Regions from separate parts of the Homo sapiens genome. Here regions 1 and 3 are each linked to region 2. Evidence: promoter capture Hi-C in human tissues and cell types (Jung and others, 2019). All regions are on one chromosome and are shown on one strand. The core of a region is centred on a gene start or on the middle of the fragment in contact, and the rest is flanking DNA. Distances in the headings are between cores, read along the strand shown.

Region 1 (2,859 bases), core at 55-2,554, 220 kb after region 2:
TTTGACAGTTTTGAAGAGTAAGTTATTTTGTAGACTGTGTCACAATTTGGGTTTTTCTGATGTTTTCTCATTATTAGTTTTTGGCAAGAAGGCCACAAATGATGCCGTGGCCTTCTCAGTGCCTCATATTAGGGTCGGGAGGTGTATGATGTCAAAATGGCTTATTATTGCTCAAGTTAACCTTGACAATTGGTTAAGATGGTGTCTACAGTGTTTCTCCACTATAAAGTTACTATTTTTCCTTGGCAATTAATATCTTTGGAGAGATGCATAGAGAATATGCTCATGTCCTATTTTCTTCTCACCTTTGGCCACTTTAGCATCCATCAGTGAGTCTTGTTTGCCTAATCATGCTTTTCAATTTGTTGTTCCTCTCACATTAATTGGAATTCTTCTGTAAGGAAGAGTAGTCTACCCTATATATAGTATTTTTAATTTTTAATTTTTTTCAGGAACAGAGTCTTGCTCTGTTCCCCAGGCTAGAGTGCAGTGGCACTTTCTTACCTCACTGAAGCATTGAATTCCTGGGCTCAAGGGATCCTCTTGCCTTAGCCTCTCAAAGTCCTGGGATTTCATGTATTTATTTATTCAATTATTTGTTTATATCAGTATGGACTCATGCATATTTATTTTATTCTATGGGTCACAACTTAATACTGTCATTTATTTTCTTGCTCAATTTGCTCCAGCCTTCTCTATCAGGAGCTCCTTCAGGTTGGTGCCTGTGTCCTTTTGATGTTCCTTTATTAGTTTTTGAGTACTTCCTTGCTTTCTGTAACCACAAGAGGTTCCAGGCTCATCTTTAATTTTTCCTGCCCCAGCCCTGGATTGAACTATTTTTTCCAAAGAGACCTGGTTCCTTTTATTGGAGAATAATAGATGTATGTATATATGTATATATGTATGTATGTATGTATGTATCTTTATATATATTACAAACCACAAGTTCATCGTTATTCCTGCAAATCTAATCCAACACCATAGAGCTCCTTCCAGGCTTTCCCCTTTTTCTTATTGGTAACTTCCTTCTGGAACCTTGAGAAATGTGGCTTTCAATATCTGTAGTATATTTACTTATTTATTCTATACTGGCATATACCTATAGTCATTTCAGAATTACTTATTAACTAGAGTACAGTATTTATATAGTTTGTTTTTGGCCTTATATTATCCAATCAAAATACTGTTTTGCAAAGTTATTTAAGTTATTTCTTTTCTTCCTTACTTCTTTCAGTGAAGTTATTTGCAATTTAATTAATTTTTTTACTATTTTATGCTACTTTGGATTCCCCCCAATCCTGGTTGATTTTTTTTTTTTTGAGACAGGGCCTTGCTCTGTTGCCCAGGCTGGAGTGGAGCGGTGTGGCATGATCATAGCCCATTGCCACTATAGCCTTGACTTCCCAGGCTTAAGCCATCTTCCTGACTCATCCCCTCAAGGAGCTGGGACTACTACAGGTTTTCACATCACGCCCAGCGAATTTTTTTTTTTTTTTTTTTTTTTTTTTTAGAGAAGGGGTTTTGCCATGCTGCCCAGGCTGGTCTCAAACTCCTGGGCTTAAGCGATGCACCCACCTTGGCCTCCCAAAGTGCTGTGATATGGCTGTCTTCTTATATGAACCCCAGTCATATTGGATTCAGGGCCTACCCTACTCTAGTATGACCTTATTTTAACTGATTACATTGGCAATCACTCCATTTCCAAATAAGGTCACATTCTGAGGTACTGGGAGTTAGGACTTCAACATATCATTTTGGGAGGGATGCAGTTCAACCCGTAACAGTAAGCTTTGTCTTTAGTTTCTGGCTTATCCTCCCTGTATTTCTTCTGAACAAACAAATACAGTAAGTTCTCACTTAAGGTCATTGATAGGCTCTTGGAAACTTCAACTTTAAGTGCAATGAAGTATAACAAAACCAGTTTTACTATAGGCTAATTGATATAAATAAGCAAAATTCTACACAAAATTTCAAATCACAAAAACATCACCAAACTTCTAAATGAAGATCCCAAACACAAGCTGGGTGTGGGGGCTCACACCTGTAATCCCAGCACTTTGGGAGGCCAAGGTGGGGTGGATCACCTGAGGTCGAGAGTTCAAGACCAGCCTGACCAACATGGAGAAATCCTGTCTCTACTAAATATACAAAAGCGGGGCGTGGTGGCGCATGCCTGTAATCCCAGCTACTTGGGAAGCTGAGGCAGAAGAATCGCTTTAACCTGAGAGGCGGAGGTTGCGGTGAGCCAAGATTGTGACATTGTACCCCAGCCTGGGCAACAAAAGTGAAACTCTGTCTCAAAACAACAACAACAACAACAACAACAAAAACCCAAACACTTCTTTTTTTTTTTTTTTTGAGACAGAGTCACACTCTGTCCACCCAGGTTGGAGTGCAGTGGCGCGATCTCGGCTCACTGCAGGCTCCGCCCCCGGGGGTTCACGCCATTCTCCTGCCTCAGCCTCCCGAGTAGTAGCTGGGACTACAGGCGCCCGCCACCTCGCTCGGCTAATTTTTTGTATTTTTAGTAGAGACGGGGTTTCACCATGTTGGCCAGGCTGGTCTCGAACTCCTGACCTCAGGTGATCGGCCCGCCTCAGCCTCCCAAAATGCTGGGATTACAGGCATGAGCCACCATGCCCGGCCTCTCAAACACTTCTAATATTAAACATTGAAATAAATGTGAGTTACACTTATATTTAAGAAAGATGAAAACAAGATAATTTTTGGGTGCAGTGGCTTATATCTGTAATCCCAGCACTTTGAGAGCGTGAGGCAGGTGGATCGTTTGAGCCCAGGAGTTCGAGACCAGCCTGGGTGACACAAGGAGACCCCATCTCTACAAAAAAGAAAAAGAAA
Region 2 (2,979 bases), core at 94-2,593:
TAGCACATAGTAGATGTTCAATAAATATTTGCTTAATGAACAGTGAGTACTACTCCAACTCTAGAACTTTCAGTCTTAACCTTATTAAGAGCTAAAAGGCATCCCCCAATTTCCGGGTGGCATTTGACTTTTGTGAACTTATATGCAGTATCTTTTGTTTGACACATGGTTCCCTCTGATTTTTCTTAGATGATAGTAACACGAAAGGAAAATTCCTAACCAGTGCGCAAGAAAGAAGAAAATCAACCATGCATAACACTGATTTTAGATAATATCTTATCCATAAACCAACAGAGAAAATGCCTTCTGAATTTGTAGCTTCTCCTCTTAAACCTACGGAAAATAAACTGAATATTTGTTGCCTTTGCCGGGGTGGGGGGGCGAGAAGGGGGCCAGGAGAGACGTGAAAGCCCAGGAGCCCTTCTTCAACAGCATCAACTCTTGTGTACTCCAACTTACTTTTTTTGAGGGGGTGGGCACCGTTCGAGGTCTCTGCCAGGGGGTGTCTGTTTTTCACCCTTTGAGGTGCCTATTGTGCTGTCTTGAGAACGAGGAGAGGTGGGTGAGGAGGGGGTAAGAAAGGATGCTGCTTGCGGCTCCAACTGCCTCCGAACACAAAGTCGGGAGGCGAGGGATCCGCGCGGATGTCTCGGGGGCCAGCGGGCGCCCGGGCCGCGCGCTCGGATCGCAGCCTCGGCCCCGGGGTGCCGGCGGGACGCGGGCTGCGCGGACTTAGGCCCGGACAGAGCCCCATGGCCTCCCGGCGGCCGGGCACGGGGCCCCGCGCACCTCACTCACCCCGGTTCCCCCAATCCGGCACCCTTCTCGGTTACCTCGAACTCTCTTCAGCGAAATGGGATCCTTCTCCTGTTCTGCTGACATTACAGACCGCAAAGCATGACTCCCCCCCAGGCCGCGGGAATTCGGTCTCTTTGATGCTGCGGCGGCGGCTCCTCCTCCTCGCGGGGCCGCTGCGGCTGCGAGGCAAGCCTCGGAGCCGAGGCACGGCCGAGGGCGGTGGGGACGCGGGCCGACTTTGCAAAGTTTGGGAGGAGGACGAGGCCTCGGGGCGGCGGGGCGGCGGGGCGGCGTGCGGGCACCGGCGGGGCTCAGCGGCGGTGGCCGGGAGCGCGGCCTGGGGGCGGCCCCCCACCCGGGGCCGGCATGTGCTGAGGGCGAGTGCGCCGCCGCCGCCGCCGCCTCCTCCCACTCCTTCTTCTTCGCCGCCGCCTCAGGAGCCGCTGACAGGGGAAGCAGGAGGCTCGCGGCCCGGCCCTGGCGGCACACTCACAGCGCCCTCTGAGGAGGAGGTCTGCTCTCTCGCCGCTCCCGAGTCGCAGACACAAAAGCCCCCAGACTGGAGCCGCCTGTAAAACCCGCTCTGGGGCGGGCGAGGGACGTGGCGCGGCCCCGCGGCTTCCCCGCCCTGAGCTCCCCAGCCCCGCGCGGGGACGGGCTTCGGGGGGCGGGGGCCGCTGCCTCGTCCCGCGGCGCCTCCCGCCACCGCCGCCGCCTCGCGCTCCGCCTCGGCCCAGCCCCCACGGCCCGCGCGCGCCTCTTGCTCCAAGCCGGGGCTCGCGGGCCCGCGGCTCTTGCAGCCCGGGTGGGCAGCGCGCGCCTAGGGGCCGCCCCGCCCCGCGCCCGGCGCTCCCTCGCCGACCGCCAGGCCCGAGAACGCCCGACCCCGCGGCCGACGCTACCGGGCCCAGCTTTCGCAAGGAAAGGGCATCTCCGAACTTCGTCGGAGGCCACAGCAGCAGGCGTCTCGGCCTCGCAGCTAGGGATCGGAAAGATGAACGTACCATGCGAGGAAACTTTGTAAGCGGGAGCTGGAGAGTTCTCGGCGGGCATGTGGGGATCCAGATTCCCCGACTCCGTGTCCGCGTGGCCGTGGTGTGGACACCTGTCTGTAGAATGCCTCCACTTGGTATTTTAACGACTTGACTCTTCAAGAAAGAGCGACGTAGAATAAATACCAGAAAGGACGGTGGGCGGGGGAGGGGGGAGCGTGGGTAGAAGCGGTGACGCGGCTGGATCTCATTTAGACGTTAAATTTTAGGAGGAACACCCCCAGTGTGATTGTAAATTAGATGTGATCACCGGTCCACATTCTTCAGTTGGGCTGTGTGACCGGAGGCGACTTAGGTAACCTCTCTGGGTCTCAGTTTTCTTGTCTATAAAAGGCAGTGGGGCTACATCTCGAAGGTCTCTTCTAGCTCCGACATTGTTTAACGCACTTCTACGAAATTGTTTTCCCTGGTTTTTGTTTTTTGTTTTTTGTTTTTGTTTTTGTTTTGCTAGGTTTTCTGGTTATCCACTGGGCTTATTTTGATGTAAGAATCACCGAAAAGCACTCATGAAGCGTGGGAGGACACAGAACTAGCTACAGACAGGAGTCTCGTCCTTCCGGAGACAGACACCCAACTCATTCAGCTGCACAGTGTCACAGAGAACAGATGTTAACATGAAGCCAATGTACAGCCTCAACAGCTGCATACCAGACAATCGCCACAGCGGCTGATCGTCGTTAAGACATAGCGTGGCCGGAGGCAAATGTTACCCTTTATCTAATAAGGGTGGTCTGGAATTATGGAATTCCTGATTAGAAGAGTCAGACTAGGACAGGCTAAGGAAAATATTCTTACAGGAAGCACTCTGAGGAGAAGGTTCCTCCTAACTAGAATGTAAGCGCCATGCAGGCAGGAATTTTGACTGGCTCACTGCTGTATCCTCTGGTACCTAATACTGAGTAACACATAGTAAGTGTTCGGGAAAATATTCATTGATGTATGAATAAAGAGATTTGAAGTGGCCCTGGGACGACTGGGGTGGCAGGGCTTTGGTAAGTGTAATAAAGCCGAAGCAAATGGTAATATAATAAAGCAGATTGGGGGCCGGGCGCGGTGGCTCACGCCTGTAATCCCGGCACTTTGGGAGGCCGAGGCAGGCGGATCATGAAGTCAGGAGATCAAGACCATC
Region 3 (3,036 bases), core at 289-2,788, 170 kb after region 2:
AACCAGTAAGTGATAATGGAGAGAATTCAAATTTGGGCTTCTCTGATCCATGCTTTATTGCTTCATGTATATTCTTTCCTTAACAACACCAAGAGTGACTTTATCCCTGGGCCCCTATTTGTGTAGGGTTCACAGGTCCATAGTAGACAGGATTTAATATCAATTAAAATCTTATTTTAGGGATTCAACCACAATGCAAATGACAAGCAAAATACACACATGCATGAAAATATGGGGTGCCTGAATATAACTTCTAGGATCTAAAAGGGAATCATCCCCTCCTCTTCAGCAATGGTCTTATCTTCCTGTAAGAGCTCTATTTCCAGCTGTTTTATATAACTTAAGGAGAAGAAAGGAAAAGATTAGGAAGTGAAAAAGTTGAGGAGGCTGAAGAAAAGAGTGATAATGAGAAGAGGTGGAAAAAAATAAATAAAGAAGTAAAAGTTGTGGGAAAAAAAATCACAACAACATCAAAATAGCTGTGGGTTTTAAAAAGTCTCCATCTGGGCTGGGTGCTGTGGCTCACGCCTGTAATCCCAGGACTAGGGAGGCCGAGACGGGTGGATCACTTGAGGTCAGGAGTTTGAGACCAGCCTGGCCAACATGGCGAAACCCCATCTCTACTAAAAATACAAAAAATTAGCCGGGCATGATGGTGGGCGCCTATAATCCCAGCTACTCAGAAGGCTGAGGCAGGAGAATCGCTTGAACCCAAGAGGCAGAGGTTGCAGTGAGCAGAGATGGTGCCATTGCACTTCAGCCTGGGCAACAAAAGTGAAACTCTGTCTCAAAAACAAAAAACAAAAAAGAAAGTCTCCATCTGCCCACCCACCCTGCTGCAGATCTCCTGTCCATTGAGGAGGTGCAGGTTCCTACTTGTGCTCTGTTTGGCGGATGAGAGAAGAAAAAAGTGGTGGTGAGGGGAGAAAATGCTGTGGACGAAGATACTGGCCCCAACACCTTCATGCTTCATTAGAGGCACTCCGGGGGTTTAAAGGGACTTCAGCACTCCATTTCCAGACACACCCATGCTAAGCTTTTACTTAGTACTTTCATAAATCTTTTATGACTGTCCTCAAATAGTGCACCATGCCTCAACACCTTTACATAGCACCTAGCAAAGTGCTTTGCACACAGCAGATGAGGGGGTCCCCACATTTTTGAGGGGAGGAGTAAATTGTTTTCCACTTTGTCTCCTGATGAGTGGAGAGGTACTGATAGTCTATAGTCCATGGTTGGTACATGTGTGGTGGGGTGATGTGGCAGCAGGGAAAGGAAAGATAGTTCACAATTAGAAGCCTCTGAACTGTGTCCTCCCCACCCCCAACTCACCTGGCCAGCATCTCATGTGCCAAGCTTCAAGGAACACCACACTCCACTTTCTGCCATGGGAAATTGTGATGATGCACGTGGAGAGAGATATCATGGCAACTTCTAGCCCGTACTTTACTGAGGTCGATTTTATGAACCAATCATTTTCCTGATCAGCTCCTCAAGGACTTCTACAAATTGTTAAGTATTTAATGTCCCATTGAAAATGGGTTTTATATCATTGGAAGATTTCAAGCTTGTCACTCTGTATTGGTCTACTATTATTCCTGCTCCTATCTACCGTGAACCATAGCATTAGTGGTATTTAGTAGTTGCTGTTTACTGTCTGCTGGGTGGCTGTATCCACACTGACCGCCATTGAGGAACCTAGAAACCTGTAGATTCTTGACACTAAGTACACATGCTTCCAGCTAACAAACATGTATATGTATTTCTCTAGTTTGTAGGTTGATGGCTATCATTGGTAAGGGATACTATGTGCAGGAGGTTTGGGGAGAACAGTTATAATAATTATAATCAGAGACATAGACTTTTTTAAAGGTTGTATAAGATTTCCAAAGATTTTTAGACCAGTGCAAGGTATTTGCTAGATCTCTCAACTATGAGAGTTAGAAAAGACAAATGAAAAGGTAATAAATGTAGGGGCATATGTAACTGTTAAATTATAATCCTATTACTCAGGCTTTGGGATTTTTCAGAAAACTGATATTCTGTAAGTTTACATTTTTTGTTAAAATAAAGACATGACTAAAAGGTTGGTAATTGCCCTATATTTGTTTTAAAAAATACTGTCTACCAATAAATACTCATTTTTAAATACTCACAAGATAAAGCAGCTATCTTTTGTAGCATTTTTAGTGTTAACATAAGAACTGTGAACAAAGACTGAGTATTTTGATATGTTTTCATTTTTCTGAGATAATAATGTATGCCTATATATTTGGGGGGTTAGTAAGCATGAGTTATCACAAGTACCAACAAAAATTAATCCTTTTTGATTATGTATGTTTAAAAAATTAGAGGATTTTTTTTTTTTTTTTTTTTTTGAGATGGGGTCTTCGCTCTGTCGCCCAGGCTGGAGTGCAGTGGCACGATCTTGGCTCACTGCAAGCTCTGCCTCCCGGGTTCATACCATTCTCCTGCCTCAGCCTCCCAAGTAGCTGGGACTACAGGCACCTACCACCACACCTGGCTAATTTTTTGTATTTTTCAGTAGAGACGGGGTTTTTCACCGTGTTAGCCAGGATGGTGTCGATCTCCTGACCTCATGATCCACCCGCCTGGGCCTCCCAAAGAGCTGGGACTACAGGCATAAGCCACCACACCCAGCCCTTTTTTTTTTTTTTTAAACACAGAATCTCACTCTGTCACCCAGTCTGGAGTGCAATGGCGAGATCTCGGCTCACTGCAACCTCTGCCTCCCGGGTTCAAGCAGTTCTGCCTCAGCCTCCCAAGTAGCCGGGACTACAGGCACCTGCCACCATGCCCGGCTAATTTTTTGTATTTTTGGTTGAGACGGGGTTTCATCATGTTGGCCATGCTGGTCTCAAATTCCTGACCTCAGGTAATCCACCCGCCTCGGCCTCCCAAAGTACAGGCATGAGCCACCGTGCCCAGCTGGAGATCTGAATTTTAAAGCTCAATTCTTAAAAGTTTTCCTTTAGGTTTGATGTCGACAGAGTAATCATATTGCCGTTTATAACA

Evidence for each region. Contacts are between HindIII fragments. The study calls those that stand out against the background at their distance.
Region 1: a contact is called between a fragment that was not itself captured here and the fragment with the promoter of PYGO1 in region 2, in 1 of the 25 tissues and cell types used here (mesenchymal stem cells).
Region 3: a fragment that was not itself captured here is called in contact with the fragment with the promoter of PYGO1 in region 2 in 1 of the 25 tissues and cell types used here (H1 embryonic stem cells).

Annotation. Positions count from the first base shown.
Region 1 is chr15:55,810,332-55,813,190 of GRCh38, forward strand. No RefSeq gene overlaps it. Among named protein-coding and RNA genes, the nearest start is that of PRTG, 69 kb to the left of the region's middle. The HindIII fragment of the contact is 4,736 bases long and covers 1-2,859 here.
Region 2 is chr15:55,587,002-55,589,980 of GRCh38, forward strand. It overlaps PYGO1 (pygopus family PHD finger 1), which reads right to left and starts at 1,344. Exons shown (of 3, transcript NM_001367806.1): 1 at 834-1,344. The coding sequence starts at 882. LOC124903497 (a long non-coding RNA gene) reads left to right here and starts at 1,549. Exons shown (of 2, transcript XR_007064647.1): 1 at 1,549-1,818; 2 at 2,302-2,979. RefSeq lists silencers at 1,116-1,165, 1,246-1,365. The HindIII fragment of the contact is 20,429 bases long and covers 1-2,979 here.
Region 3 is chr15:55,753,667-55,756,702 of GRCh38, forward strand. No RefSeq gene overlaps it. Among named protein-coding and RNA genes, the nearest start is that of PRTG, 12 kb to the left of the region's middle. The HindIII fragment of the contact is 3,348 bases long and covers 1-3,036 here.